Regions from separate parts of the Homo sapiens genome. Here region 1 is linked to region 2. Evidence: promoter capture Hi-C in human tissues and cell types (Jung and others, 2019). All regions are on one chromosome and are shown on one strand. Each heading gives the region's core, a stretch centred on a gene start or on the middle of the fragment in contact. The rest is flanking DNA. Distances are from core to core; before and after follow the strand shown. Region 1 overlaps NCKAP5 (NCK associated protein 5). Region 2 holds the start of LYPD1 (LY6/PLAUR domain containing 1).

The links. Contacts are between HindIII fragments. The study calls those that stand out against the background at their distance.
Region 1: a fragment that was not itself captured here is called in contact with the fragment with the promoter of LYPD1 in region 2 in 2 of the 25 tissues and cell types used here (heart right ventricle and thymus).

Annotation. Positions count from the first base shown.
Region 1 is chr2:132,743,267-132,750,193 of GRCh38, forward strand. All of the region lies in intron 16 of NCKAP5 (NCK associated protein 5), which reads right to left. Among named protein-coding and RNA genes, the nearest start is that of LYPD1, 77 kb to the left of the region's middle. RefSeq lists an enhancer at 3,909-4,078. The HindIII fragment of the contact is 3,953 bases long and covers 2,053-6,005 here.
Region 2 is chr2:132,667,977-132,674,620 of GRCh38, forward strand. LYPD1 (LY6/PLAUR domain containing 1) reads right to left here and starts at 2,229. Exons shown (of 3, transcript NM_144586.7): 1 at 1,905-2,229; 2 at 424-561. The coding sequence starts at 1,956. NCKAP5 (NCK associated protein 5) reads right to left here. Exons shown (of 20, transcript NM_207363.3): 20 at 3,812-5,329. The coding sequence ends at 5,313. RefSeq lists an enhancer at 1,092-2,055. The HindIII fragment of the contact is 6,763 bases long and covers 1-6,233 here.

The DNA of each region.
Region 1 (6,927 bases), core at 2,779-5,278, 77 kb after region 2:
ACAGATATGAGGATCAAGGCAGCTAAAATTTGCAGGGCAGATGTATATTAAAGAATGGAGAACACTAGAAATAGTAATATATGATCTATATATATATTTTGTTTATTGTGAGGTTTCTAACATATATAGAAGTAAAATATATAACAGCACAAAGGATGGGAGAGGTTATATGAAAATAGCCTGTAACATATTATGTAAAATAGATTATGATAAAGTAACAATGTAATAAAATTACATTTAAATGTTAAACCACTCACTAAAACAGGAAAATAGAGAGGTATAGCTAATAAGTTACAAGAGGAAATAAAGCAGAATCAATAAAAACATTCAAGTCAAAAAGGTAGAAAAGGAGGAAAATAGAAAGATGAGACAATCAGAAAATAAATAATTATATGGTAGATTTAAATCCAACCATTTAGATAATTACATAAAATTAAAATAGTCTAAACACTCCAATGAATAGGCTGAGATTGTCAGATTGGATAAAATAAAAATTGGTATACAAAATATACCTATTTATATGCTGTAGATAAAACATTCATTTTAAATATAAAAAACAGATAGGTGAAAAGTGGGACAGAAAAATATATAGCATGCAAACTCTAATAAAAAGAAAGCTAGAGTCACTATGCTAATATCAGAAAATGTAAACTTTAGAAAGGAAATATTACCAGGGATCAGAAGAAATATGTTATAGTTATAACAAGGTAAATTTATCAAGACATTATAATCCTAAATATGTATATCTATAACAATAGAACTCCAAAATTATGAAGCAGAAAACTGACAGAACTTAAAAGAGAAAATGTCAGATCTAAAATTAAAATGAAAAGTCTTCTCTCAGTAATTAATACAACAAGTAGAGAGACTATCACAAGGCATAGAAGATCTGAACAATATAATTTAAAACTTTGACCAATGTGAATTGTGCAGCACACTCTACCCATCAAGGGCAGAATGCATATTCTTTTTGGGTACACATGGATTAAGATAGACCATATCCTTCATTATAAAAGAAGTCTTAGAAAATTTAAAATCACCGAAGCCATGGAAAATATGTTCTCTGAGCATCAGAGAATTAAAAGAGAAGTCAATAGAAGAAAGATGTCTAGAAAAATTTCCAAACATTTACAACTTATACAGTACACTACTAAATTTCCTGTGTATTAAATGGAAAATAATATTTTGAAATGAATGAAAATACAATGGAATGCAGCTAAACAGTGCCTTAACAAAAATGTACAGCACAAATAAGACAGGCTTAAAATAAGTGCTCTGAGACTTCATTTTAAGAAACTAGAAAAATAAGAACATATTAAACATAAACTAAGCAGAAGACATAAAAATGAGAGCTGAAATTAAGAAAATTAAAAAAAAAAACAATTTAAAAATCAATGAAACAAAGAGCTGGTTATTTTACATGACTGATCCAACTGACAAACCTCCAACTAGATTGAGGAAACACTGACTAAAGGAGAAAAGACAAAAATTCTCAATATTATGAATGAATAAGGAGGCATCACTACAGATCTTCCAGTGAATAACAGATAATATGTATGTATGAACAAACTTAAGCCAACACATTTTACAATTCAGATAAAATGGAAATATTTTTTGAGAAATCCAACTACCAGAACTCACTCAAGAAAAAAGATAAACCAAATAGTCCTATATCAATTTAGGCAATTGAATTTGGAATTAAAAATATTTTCATGAAATATTATAGGCCTAGATGTCTTCACTATTGAATTCTTCAGAATTTATAAGGATGAAAAAAATGATCATTTCTTTATAAACTCCTTTAGAAAACAGGAGAAGAGCAAACACTTTCCACATCATTTTATAATGACCATATTACCTTGATATCAAACTCAAAGACATCATACATAGAGGAAAAATAGAGATCAATATAACTCATGAAAATGGATGCAAGAATGTTTAATAATTGATTTGCTATTAAGCATTTTTGCATAATTAAGCAAATTACTCACCAAGTGGCATTTACCCAAGGAATGTAAAATTTGTTTAGCATTTAAAAATAAATCAATATTAAAAGAAAAACCATATGATTATCTCAAAATACATAGAAAAAATCATTTAACAAAATTCAACATCCTTTCATGACAGACAAAAAAAAAACAGACACAGCAAACTAGGAATAGAAGAGAACTTTCTCACTCTGTACAAGTGTAAAAGGGCATCTACAGAAAACCTACAGATAACACCATATTTGAAAAAAATAGACTGAATGTTCCCCCACTAAGACTGAGAGCATGTTAAGAATGTTAGCTCTTACCACTTCCATTTAACATTATAGTGGAGGTTATAGCCAGTGCAACAAGGTAAGGAAAAGAAATAAAAGGCATAGAGATTAGAAAGAATAAAGTATAACTGTCTTTATTTGAAGACAATATAATTGTGTATGTAGAATACTCTAAGGGATCTCCCAAAACACTATGAGAACTAATAAGTGGTTTAGCAAGGTTACATCATACAAGGATAATTTAGCAAAATCAATTGTATTAGTATGTATTATAAATAATTGGTAATTAAACAATACTATTTCTAACAGCATCAAAATATGAAAAAAACACATCTTATAAAATGGTGAAACCTTGTACACTAAGAAGTACAAAACATTGTAGAGATAAATTTAAAGAATACTGACATAAATGGAGAGATCTGCCATATTCATGGATCAGAAGACTCAAAATTGTTCGGATATCAATTCTCTTCAAATTGATCTACAGATTCAATGACATTTTAATCAAAACACTATCAGGTTTTTTTTTAAAAAAAGACGTTGACACATTGATTCTAAAATTATGTGAAAATGGAAACATTTTCATAAAGTAAAACAAGGTCAGAGGTCTGACACTGCCTGAATTCTTTATAAGGCTACGTTCATTAAGAGAGTGTGGTATTGGGTAAGGATTTGCACATAGGTCAGTGGAACAGAACAGACATTCCGGAAATAGACTCACACATATATTTTCAATTGATTTCTGACAAAGATGACAATGTAATTTAACGGAAGAAAGATAGTGTTTCAACAAAAGGTATTAAAAACAATAAATACTCATCTGAAGAAAAGTAAACCCTTTTCTCACACTGTATATAAAAATTAACACATAAACCCAAACACAAGATCTAATACCACAAAACATCCAGAAGAAAATATCGGAGTATCTCTGTGGCCTTGGATTAGGCATCAATTTCTTAAATAGAGCAAGAAAACATGAACCATAAAATAAAAGCATGATAAATTAGATTTAATCAAAATTAAAAATTTTGTCTTCAAAGACACGGTTAAGAAAATAAAACGCAAGCAACATATACCCATCATGCAACACAGCTATAATACTCTTACTGTTATATGTCCCCCCAAAGACTTATACACAAATGTTTATAGCAGCTTTACACATAATAGCCCCAACCGGAAACTATCAAATTGTTTATCAGCCAGTGGATAAACAAATTGTGGTACATTCATACAACAAAATACTAATGGGCAATAAAAACATAAACAAACTAAAAAACCACTGATACAACATGGATGACCCTCAAAAGCATTATGCTTATTAAGAGAGGCCAAACCCCCAATATTATGTATTTTATCATTGATTCCATTTACATGAAATTCTAGCAAAGGCAAAACTACACTGATATAAAGCAGACCAGTGGTTCCCTGGGAGCAGTGGTATTAGGAGAGGGTGGGGTGTAAAAGGCGTGAAGGAGTATTTTGGGGTGATGAAAGTGTTGTAAATCTTGATTGTGATAGTGGTTATACAACTGTATACATTTACAAAAACTTACTGAACTATACACTTCAAAAGGATGAATTTTGTTATATATAAATTATACCTCCATGAACCTGCTTTTAAACATTTTATACTCAGCCTGCCAAAAAAAAAAAACAAAACAAAGAAAACCAAAACTGAAATCAAACAGTGAACTCTGGTTGAACACAGATGAGCAAAGGAACTGTGCTTTCCCCAGGGTACACGCTTGAATAATCATTAGAGGCATCTGAAAGTGGTGTTGGCAAGAAAGCATCTTCAAGAATCACCAGGGAACAAGACTGATGCTATTCCTTAATCCCAGATCTATGCAGGTCACAAAGGGCTTTGTGAACTCCTTTATCTTTTCAATAATCGTGGGAAATAGCTATTATTATCTTCATTTTATGGGGGAGGAAAGCAGAACTCTGAGAAGTGAAATGGTCACTTGAAGAAGTGCCGGCCTGACTCTGAAGCTCAGGATCTTCTTATTCATCAACCTCTTTCCAGTAGGGTGGGGATCCCTGGTTTCCATAGCTGTGTGCCCCAGACACTCCTCTGCAGAGAGGGCATCTAAGGAGCAGAGCCTCTGATTCAGGACCTTACAGGTAGCTGATATATGCTCTGTGCAAATGCATTTGACCTTCATTACACCTCACCTTTCTGCAGCATAACAACATTTGTTGATTATTTACTACTGGGCAGGTGCTTCACTTGTATTATGTCATTATGCAATGTGTAATGGACACATTTTTCCTATGAGGAAACTGAAGTTTAAGGAGGTCAATAACTTGCCCGTAGGCCTATAGCTATAAGTAGGAAAACCAGGATTTGGATTGGGGCCTGTGCAAACCTCAAAGCTTCAGGCTTGATTGCTACATGGTTATAGTACCTTCTTCTGTATTCAGTTTACCAAGCATTCTGAATCAGTAAGGATGCTCTTGGTGGAAAGTAACATGTTAAATGGTGAAGAATGGTATTAGCTCACAGTGCAGAATTAGAACAAGCTTCAGGGCTGCCTTAATCCAGGGCCTCCGCCTCTATTTGCCTGCAGTTCTCTTCACTGTGTCCCTGCTATGTATCAGTTTTATCTTCAAGCTGTTATCAGGAGGTTTTAGTAGCTCCATACTAGTCAGCCACACACTCCCATGTCTAAGGGAGAGAGAAGTTGACTCTCTGTGTGCCTTTCTCTATACCTCCAACCACCTGTCCCTTGAAAATTAGGCAAATAAGGTCATAAACTCATTCCCAGACAAATTTGTATCTCTTGGAAAATGCTGTTCACTGACTGGCCCAGGCCTGAATTTCTGAACCAATCACTGGCAGGGAAGATTGCCATGACCGCCTTCATCAGGCTTCACTCCTGGAGTGGAAATGTCTGCTACATTCTTTCTGAGTCATTACTTCAGTTGAGTTTATGGCAACACTTTTTCTATAAATGGAGTAATTATTTCCATTCTTCAGATAAAACAAATGCATAGAGAACATTATCTCTTAGGGACATGAGCACATATGCAGAAGCCGGAATTCAAAGCCAGGTCTTCTAACACCAAGTCCAGAGCTCTTTGCGCTGCTCTGCAACAACTATACCCGTACCCTACTCTCCCTGTTTCAAAGAAATTCCATTATGTTGCTAGGATATATTTATATTCTAGTTCCCTCCTTTGGTATTTATTTATTTTTCTAATTCAATTACTACTCCCTTATGGACTCTAGTGAACCATTTAAAACCAAGTCAGGATACTTTTTTTTTTTTGAGACGGATTCTCACTCTGTCACTCAGGCTGGAGTGCAATGGCGTGATCTTGGTTCACTGCAACCTCCGTCTCCTGGGTTCAAGCAATTCTCCTGTCTCAGCCTCCCAAGTAGCTGGGACTACAGTTGCATGCCACCACACCCAGCTAATTTTTGTATTTTTAGTAGAGATGGGGTTTCAGGGTCTTGAACTCCTGACCTCAGGTGATCCACCCCTACGGACTCCCAAAGTTGCTGGGATTACAGGCATGAGCCATCATGCCCAGCCGAAGTCGAGACTTTTTGTCAGCACTTCCTTTCTAATGAGGTTTTATAGCTATTATTTAAAATAAATACATAGTCTGATATAATTTAAAACCTATTTGGTGTGATATAGTTTTTTCTTTTTTTTCTTCAGTTTCATTTTCTTTCTTACTTTGGAGACAGTGTCTTGCTCTGTTGCCCAGGCTGGAGTGTAGTGGTACTGTATCTCCACTCACTACAACCTTCACCTCCCAGACTCAAGCCATCCTCCCACGTCAGCCTCCTCAGTAGCTGGGGCTACAGGTGCAAGCCACCATGCCTGGCTAATTTTTGTATTTTTTGTAGAGACAGGATTTTGTCATATTGCCCAGGCTGGTCTCGAACTCCTGGGCTCAAGCCATCCACCCGCCTTGGCCTCCCAAAGTGCTGGGATTACAGGTGCTGCACCCAACCGAATCTCACTTCCTAAAAGAAAATCTCCAGTTGAAAAAGATGGTCCTTTTAAAATTATTTTTCCACATTTACCATCAACGCACTACCAAGCCGTATCCCCAGGCCCTTTGGCTCGTCCTACCTGTATTCACTCTCTGTAACAGACCTAATGAGAAGAGGTTCTGGTCTTTGGTCTTTGAAAGCAAGAGTGTTATAAAGGTAGCATTTTTTTTTTTACTTAAAATACATATAAGACAAAATACATGGGGGAAAAAAAACCTTCAAATGTCTGCTTAGCCACGCAGGACAGTGTTTCAACTAGAGTTCTGATAGGAACGGAAATGGTTAACTGGCTGGCAGATGACTGTGACTTCAGTATCTAGCAGAGCCCTGGAGGCTAGTATAAAGGAGTCCCTTGCACTTTGGGCTCACTTTACATTTAAACTATGATGCCATGAGCCTCACCACCTTTTATCCTCCCAACAATCATGCTCCGAGTAAGGGAAGGCAAAAATCAGTATATCCAGCTTACAGATACAGAAACTGACGCAAAGGTTTGTTTAGTTAATAAGCGGCAAAACTATAACTGAAACTTACGTATGGTTGTTTCAGGATCATTTCTGTTTAGGGTGCATTATCTTGATTTCTGAAAAGCTAGGGAAGTTGTATGAAAGATGTCAAGGCTCAGGAGTAAGTTTAGCACCTCTGACCCTGCATT
Region 2 (6,644 bases), core at 979-3,478:
ATGACAAAACACATTTTTCAAGCTCTGACCTCTGGGAGCTTCAACTAGCTCCATATTTCAGGCTGACAATGCTCACAGGCTACTGTCTAGTTGCCCAAGCCAGGGCTGGTTAGCCATATATTTTCTACCTCCATCAGCTTTTAGCATAGGGAGGTGAAGGGAGTAAATAAAAAGAGGAGAGCCACTAATTTACATGCACTTCCCCTCCCAAGACCCTTGGGGAGAAGCCTTGGTAATTAACTCTAATGAGATTAAAGTAACTTGGAACTCTTCATTTTCCCAGCACTGTAAAACTAAATCTGCGATAACCAGTGTGTGGGCATTAAATCAAAGTCAGTCCTTTTTCCTGCTATTTAATGGCCCCCTCACTCCCACCCCACAGCCCAGGCTTAAGAGCGAGGGGGAGGGCTGCCAGGCTCTTACCGGCACTTTGCTCCATCACTTCTTTCTGACACATGTCTTGAACGTTCACCGTGCAATTCACAATGAACTCGGGGGAGGAGCAGTCGTTGTTCAGCTGGAATTCTTCACACTGGTAGCACTGGATTTGCAGCGCAAAGCCTGCGAGACAGACGCAGTCGGGTTCAGATCCGGCCCCCACAGAGCCCACCCCGGAAATCACGACCATCCCACGCCTCAGAGCCAGGCGGCTCCCAGCCTCTGGCAGGCTTAGACCACTCCTGGGTCTCCGGGTAGGGCTGGATGTGGCTGACACCGGCAGGGGGCGGCGCGGGTACCTAGGGTCCTACGGAAGAAAGTGGAATAGTGCCCGCCACCCCTGGACCCCGGCTCTAGACACAAAGCGCCCATCCATTACCACCCCAGGCCTTTTCCCAAGAAGTTGAAGGGAGGGTGGGGACGGTACCACCGCAAGAGTGAAGTAGCTCTGGAGATGTGCGTTAGCTCCAGCCTAAGCCAAAGGATTTGCCTAATTGCTAATTGGTTACAAATTACTTAATTACTATTTTGGCACCATTCGTGATTACATTCGCAGACGTCTTTTTAGTTTTTATTTATTTAATTTTTAAAGTCAGCGTTTCTGTGCCAGGGCTCTGAGGATCCCTGAGCGACCACCTGGGAACAACTTGGGTGGAGGTGCCAGACGCCAAGCGCTGCTGCGCCGCAAGTCCCCGAGCCCGGGTCGGCGGCCCTTCTCCGGGGCCGTCCCCGCGGCGACCCGAATGGCCACAGAGGGTGGGAAAGGGCGTTTGTGAGCGCGCGCACCCTGGATCCCCGACCCCGCAGCCCTTTCTTCCAGGCCCCGGCTTTCAGGACAACCGTTCGACTAGGGTCAGTGGTCGGGGTTCCAGCTCTGCAGAGCTTAGTCGGGAGCCAGTAGGCGAACTGGAGAGAGGACGCGAGACCTTTGCGCCTCTGGACGCTTCGGCCTGGCTGTTCTCGGTGTACGCGCTCCTGTCTAGACCCAACTACCCACGCTCCCGCAGCCCCACATCTATCGCACTCTGAGCGCAGCAACCCAGCTTCAGCGTGGCCGCAGGCTGCCTCGCGCATCGCTCACCTGTCGGCGGCGCCACTCCCACGGGGTGCCGGAGGCGCCAGACAACTTGGCAGGGTTCGGGAGATGTCGCCCCCTCTCCCTCGCCCAGAACCCAGCACCGCTCGGACCCTCCCTCCTCTCAAGCCCAGCTTCTCCCGACGGTGCAGCCGGACAAGCTGCAGCCCGGAGTCCCGCAAACCCGCCGCTCCCCGCTCTCCTCCTGCAGCGCGGGACTTGGACACTTTCCCAGCCTCGCGCCCCGGGGCACCAGTCGCGGCCGCCAACTCCCGCTGGGCAGCCCCAGCGCAGGGCTGGCCCCGAGGTGGGCGCCTTGGGGGCAAAAGGGCTGGCGGGTAGATGGATTGTGCGCACCTGGCCTCGGCTGCTGGCCTCTGGGTATTCTCACCTGGAAGCAAGAACAATCCGCAAAAAGTTGCCGCGATGCCTAGGACCCACATTCTCCCGGAGTCCCGGGGCCGGGAGAGGGCAAGCGCATCAGAGGAGGCGACAGCAGCGGAGGCTGCCCCGGCTGCAGCGGCTGTGGCTGCCGAGGCTGCTGGGGCCCGCGCTGCTGCCGCGGAGACGACGGTCGTAGCTTAGAGGAGCCGCAGGTGCCGCTCGCGGAGCCTGCATCGCCCGCGCTCGGGCTCCCGGCTGCGGGTCTCTGCTCCTCCCGCTCGCGCTCCCGGGCCGAGCACCGCGCCTCCGGAGTTGGCGGCTGAGACTGAAGGAACTACTGGCGATCGGGAGCACCCACAAAAGTCTCGCCTTTTCTCCCCACCTCCCACTCCAGGCATCACGTGACGGCTGCCGAGTTGGGGTGGGGGTGGCGGGCGGGGAAGGCTGGGACGGTCGCTTCACATCCCCACCCCCTTCCTGTCTTCCTCTTCTCCCGCCTCCGCACGTTCCTGGGAAAGGGGCGCCGGGGGGCGGGAGAGAACTGGTAGTTTTCTGAGATGGGGAGGTTGGGGGAGCGGCGAGGAGGGCGCAGCAGGTGCCGTGGGGACCTGCCGGGTGCGGACTAGGGTCTGAGGACTGCGTGCCCGGCTGGCCCTTCGCACATAGGAAGGCAGCCTCCCCACTCCACGTCCTCTGCGCCTTCCAGGACTGGTCGGTACCCCAGCGACTGGGTCCAGCCCACACAACTGAGGCTGTCCCGCTGCGGGCCGCGGGAGCCTGGCGCCCCGGGAGGCTGACAGGAAGGGCGCGCGTTCCCGTGCGCCTGGCAAAGTTCCACGCCCGCAGGCTCCGTAGGGTGTCCTGTGCAGCTGTGCCCCCTCTTCCTCCGCGAAGGCCTTCTGTCAAGAACCAGCTCGGCGTGGCCAATCTGGGTGGGGGTGTGGTGGGGACACTGCCTTAACTGTCTCACTTGCCCGGGCCGCCCTCCCTTCTCCCGCCTGCGCGCACCGCTGGAGGGTGCATTGACACCGCCCTGGTCGCCTAGCCTAGGAGAACGCCGTCCCGGGGACACCTGCCGTGAGGTCCTACCAGAAAGCAAATCAGGGTGAGGAAGAGGGTTGTTCTCCTCCATTCCTTGTCTCCCAAACGCCAGCCGGCTCCATTCTGCTTTCCCCAAAGCCACCGATTATTAGCACATACTCCCACGTCCTCTCCTGAAAGGCCATCCCAGCCTCGGACTCGGCCTCTGGCTGCTCCCCACACCCCTCAAATTCGTCTTCTTTCCGCAAAGTCCAAGTGACCCACCTTGCGGACTCCCGGGGATGCCCCGGTGCTATCTTCGCCTTCCTTCCCGAGCCTTGCAGCAGGTGGTGCGGGAGACCGCTTGCCCGCCGGAGTGCGTTGGTGCCCCCGCCCCCAATCCGCACATTCCCATCCCCTTTCCGCACATCCTTAGGGAGCATCCATTTCCGTGGAAATCGCCTCCTAAGCTTTAGCTCCTCTTCACCCTTTTCTCCCCCGGCCACTTCTGGGGGCAGCTCTCTCACGCCGGGACGCTGATCATTTATTTCTGCATCCTCCCAGCAGAGCTGGTCTGTAAAGGGGCTTAAATGACTTTCTTTGTAATTCCTCTGCAGAGATCGTTCCATATCTGCCTCAGGCTCCTTCTCTCCCTCCCTCCCTCCCTCTCCCCCTTCTTTCATTTCTATTTGGTTAACCCCTCGGGGAGACTGAAATGCTTTGACCATTACTCACCTGTCTGCAGACTCTGATCTTACAATTGGCTAAATTACTATCTCTGGAGCAAAAGGGCCAATTTATTTATTCCTTCTGGGAACCCATTGTAAGAGCACGTGTGAGTCATGATTCAAGTAACTGACTGGGCCAAAAGGTCCTTGAGCAAGTTATTTTCTGTTTTCAGAGGGTGCAAATGTGATATAACTTTTATTCAGAAAGGAAACAAAAAGATTTTTTAAAGTCTGAAAGACAAGGACATTTTACATAATTTTCATTTAAGATAAAATAAAACAAATTGCACAAATTAACCAAATAACACTGATCATACAATACTCTTTAAAGAAACAATTATGTGCTAAAGTAGCCATATAGATCCTAAAAATATTTCTATTGGGCCTAGTTTACAAGCTCCTGTACATAAGTAATTATAAATAGTTCACATCTAGAAAAAATACACATAACCTTTAAAATAGAATTTATCCTTACATATAAACAGTCTTTGTAGAAAAAAAAGGATATTAAAAAGAATTCTTCGTAGCACCATTAATTTTATTTTTAAAAGTGAACATTGCAAATAGAAATTTGTTTTCATTTTTAGAGTGCCCAGATTTTAATAAAAAGAGCAAGAAGATAAAAATCAAATAATATTCAGGATCATAGAGAAGCACTAAGTAAAAGACAATCTAAAGAAATGTCTGGAAGGAAAAACTGGTATTGGGAATAGAATTCGGTCATTTCTGATACAATGTCACACTCCCAATCAGTGTCCACACTTCAGGACCCTTTTCATTTTTCAGCAGAAGCAGAATGACACTTATTACTATCACCTGAATCTCTGGCAACGAATCTGAAATTACACTAAAATGAACATTTCCATCAAATTGAGATTTGTGAGATGGAGATGAGGAGGAACCCTCCGATTTTTTGGCAGGCCCTGTTGTAGGTTTACAGAGTGTACCCACAAACAATTTGAGGACCAGGACAACGAACTTCACAAAAACTTCAGTTGGGATTTTAAAAAATATATATTATCATCAACTTCTAAGACTTAGTACATTATTTCAAGAGCATGGCACTGATTCCATTTATTGCTGTCTTTTTTTGCTACAAATATAATTTCTCTTCCAAAAAATTTACAACTTCTGTACAAATATTCAAAAAAAGTGCAAAATTAAGGATTCTGTATCATAGATGTGTTTACGCTTAATCCTCTTGAAACACAATAAATGGAGTCTATCTTTATTGCCCTGTCAGAGAAATAAGCTCTGGTGGGTTGCCTGCTGTGAATTTGACAAGGAAGGCTCTGGTACTGCAATAGTTTATTGTTATCTCTATCAAGCGGTGCACCCCCCACCCCCCACCCATCATTTCTTAAGCGCTCCAGTCCCAGCTCACTAAGGGAAGAGATGTCCTTTATACATCATTTGAACCTTGACTGGCACAGGAAGAGAAGCTATCATATAAAGAATCACTCAAAGATTCCAAGTTGTCTACCCCAGGCCTATCTGAACTACTCAAAGATGTCTCTTCATTTTTTTCTTTTTCTTCCTTCTGTCCTTCAACCTTGTTCAGAGAGTTCTTCTCTTTTTCTAATAAAATCACAGTATTGCTGTTAAATTTATTGAATGACTCTAGGGAAATTTTCGATAATCTATTCTCGGGATCGTCTTTTGTTTCTTCAAGTTGTCTCAATTTCTGCAATAAAAAGAAGAAAATATTAGAAACATATTTCTTTGGAAAATCAAGTTATCCTATCTAATATTCAATTATTGTCTGTATAAAGTACAGTTTAAAGGGACAGAGAAAACCTACAAGTCTTTAATAATCTTCTAGTATAATTAGATGTAATAATAAAGCCAATTTTAGGGATAAATCAGGACTTTAATCATTTTACTGAGATAAATAGGTCCCAATTTGCAAATTAAGTGCCACTTAATTTCATTTTAAATGGATCCATTTGAAATTTGTTCAGGTAAAGTGCCTTATTTTTCTTCATCAAAGTTTCAAACTCCTCTCTTTCCTTGCTAAGTATTAGCTGTACTTTTTCTAAATATGAGTAGGTATTGAATTTCAGCCAGAAGTTATGGTAATATGTTTTTTTCTAATAAAAAAAAGACATAAAAATCCCCTAACTTGCCATTTTTGAATACATGTTAAGCTTGTTAGAAGCATTGCCATTTTAGTATTTTGTCCCTTTATAGGACTTAAGATATTTGAAAGAGATCTCCAGGTTTTTGGGTGTAGATCCCAGAAGGCCCAAGGGCTTAAAAATTAAAGCGGCAGGTGAACAGCTGAGTAACCCCTCTGCTCCAGAAGGTCTAGTAATACCAGTTTATACTGGGATATTACTGTTATTAATACCCTGTATGATGTATAAAGCACTGCACCAAATTCAATAATTATCATAGGTAAACCCTGTAAACATGAATATATTCGGTTGCTCAGTTGGCTCCTAAGGGCTAAGGTGAGGACAGAGGGAGGCACACTTGCGAAAAACAATGAGAAAAACAGACATGTAAAAGTGTCTACAATATTTCTCATCTTCTTTTCCTCTTTCCAGCAGAAATTCCATCCAAACACAGGAAAGAAGCAGGCCCGGGGGCTTGGAGATGATAGTAAGTGTTACCATTTATTAAGCATCCACTAGGTAAAAGACACTTAACAGATTCTATCAGCTTTTTCACAAACCTACAAGGTAAACGACCCCATTTTAAAGAGAAGGTATGCAAGGCTCAGAGTGACAGAGATATTTGCCCAAGGTTGCCCAGCAAGTGGCAGAGAACAGGATTTGAATTTCTGTCTGGCTGCCTTCCATGCTCTTGTTCTTTCCATTAAACCATGTTCTTAGGTAATAAAGGACACAATGTCCTGTTTTCCATTTTGTTACCCAAAAATTCCACTTAAATAACTTGCCAAACCGTCTCTAACATGTGCAGTTCTGCTGTGCACCATGCTCCCCACCCCCAACATTGTTATGCTGGACTCAACAAGGTTGCAATGAGGAAACTGT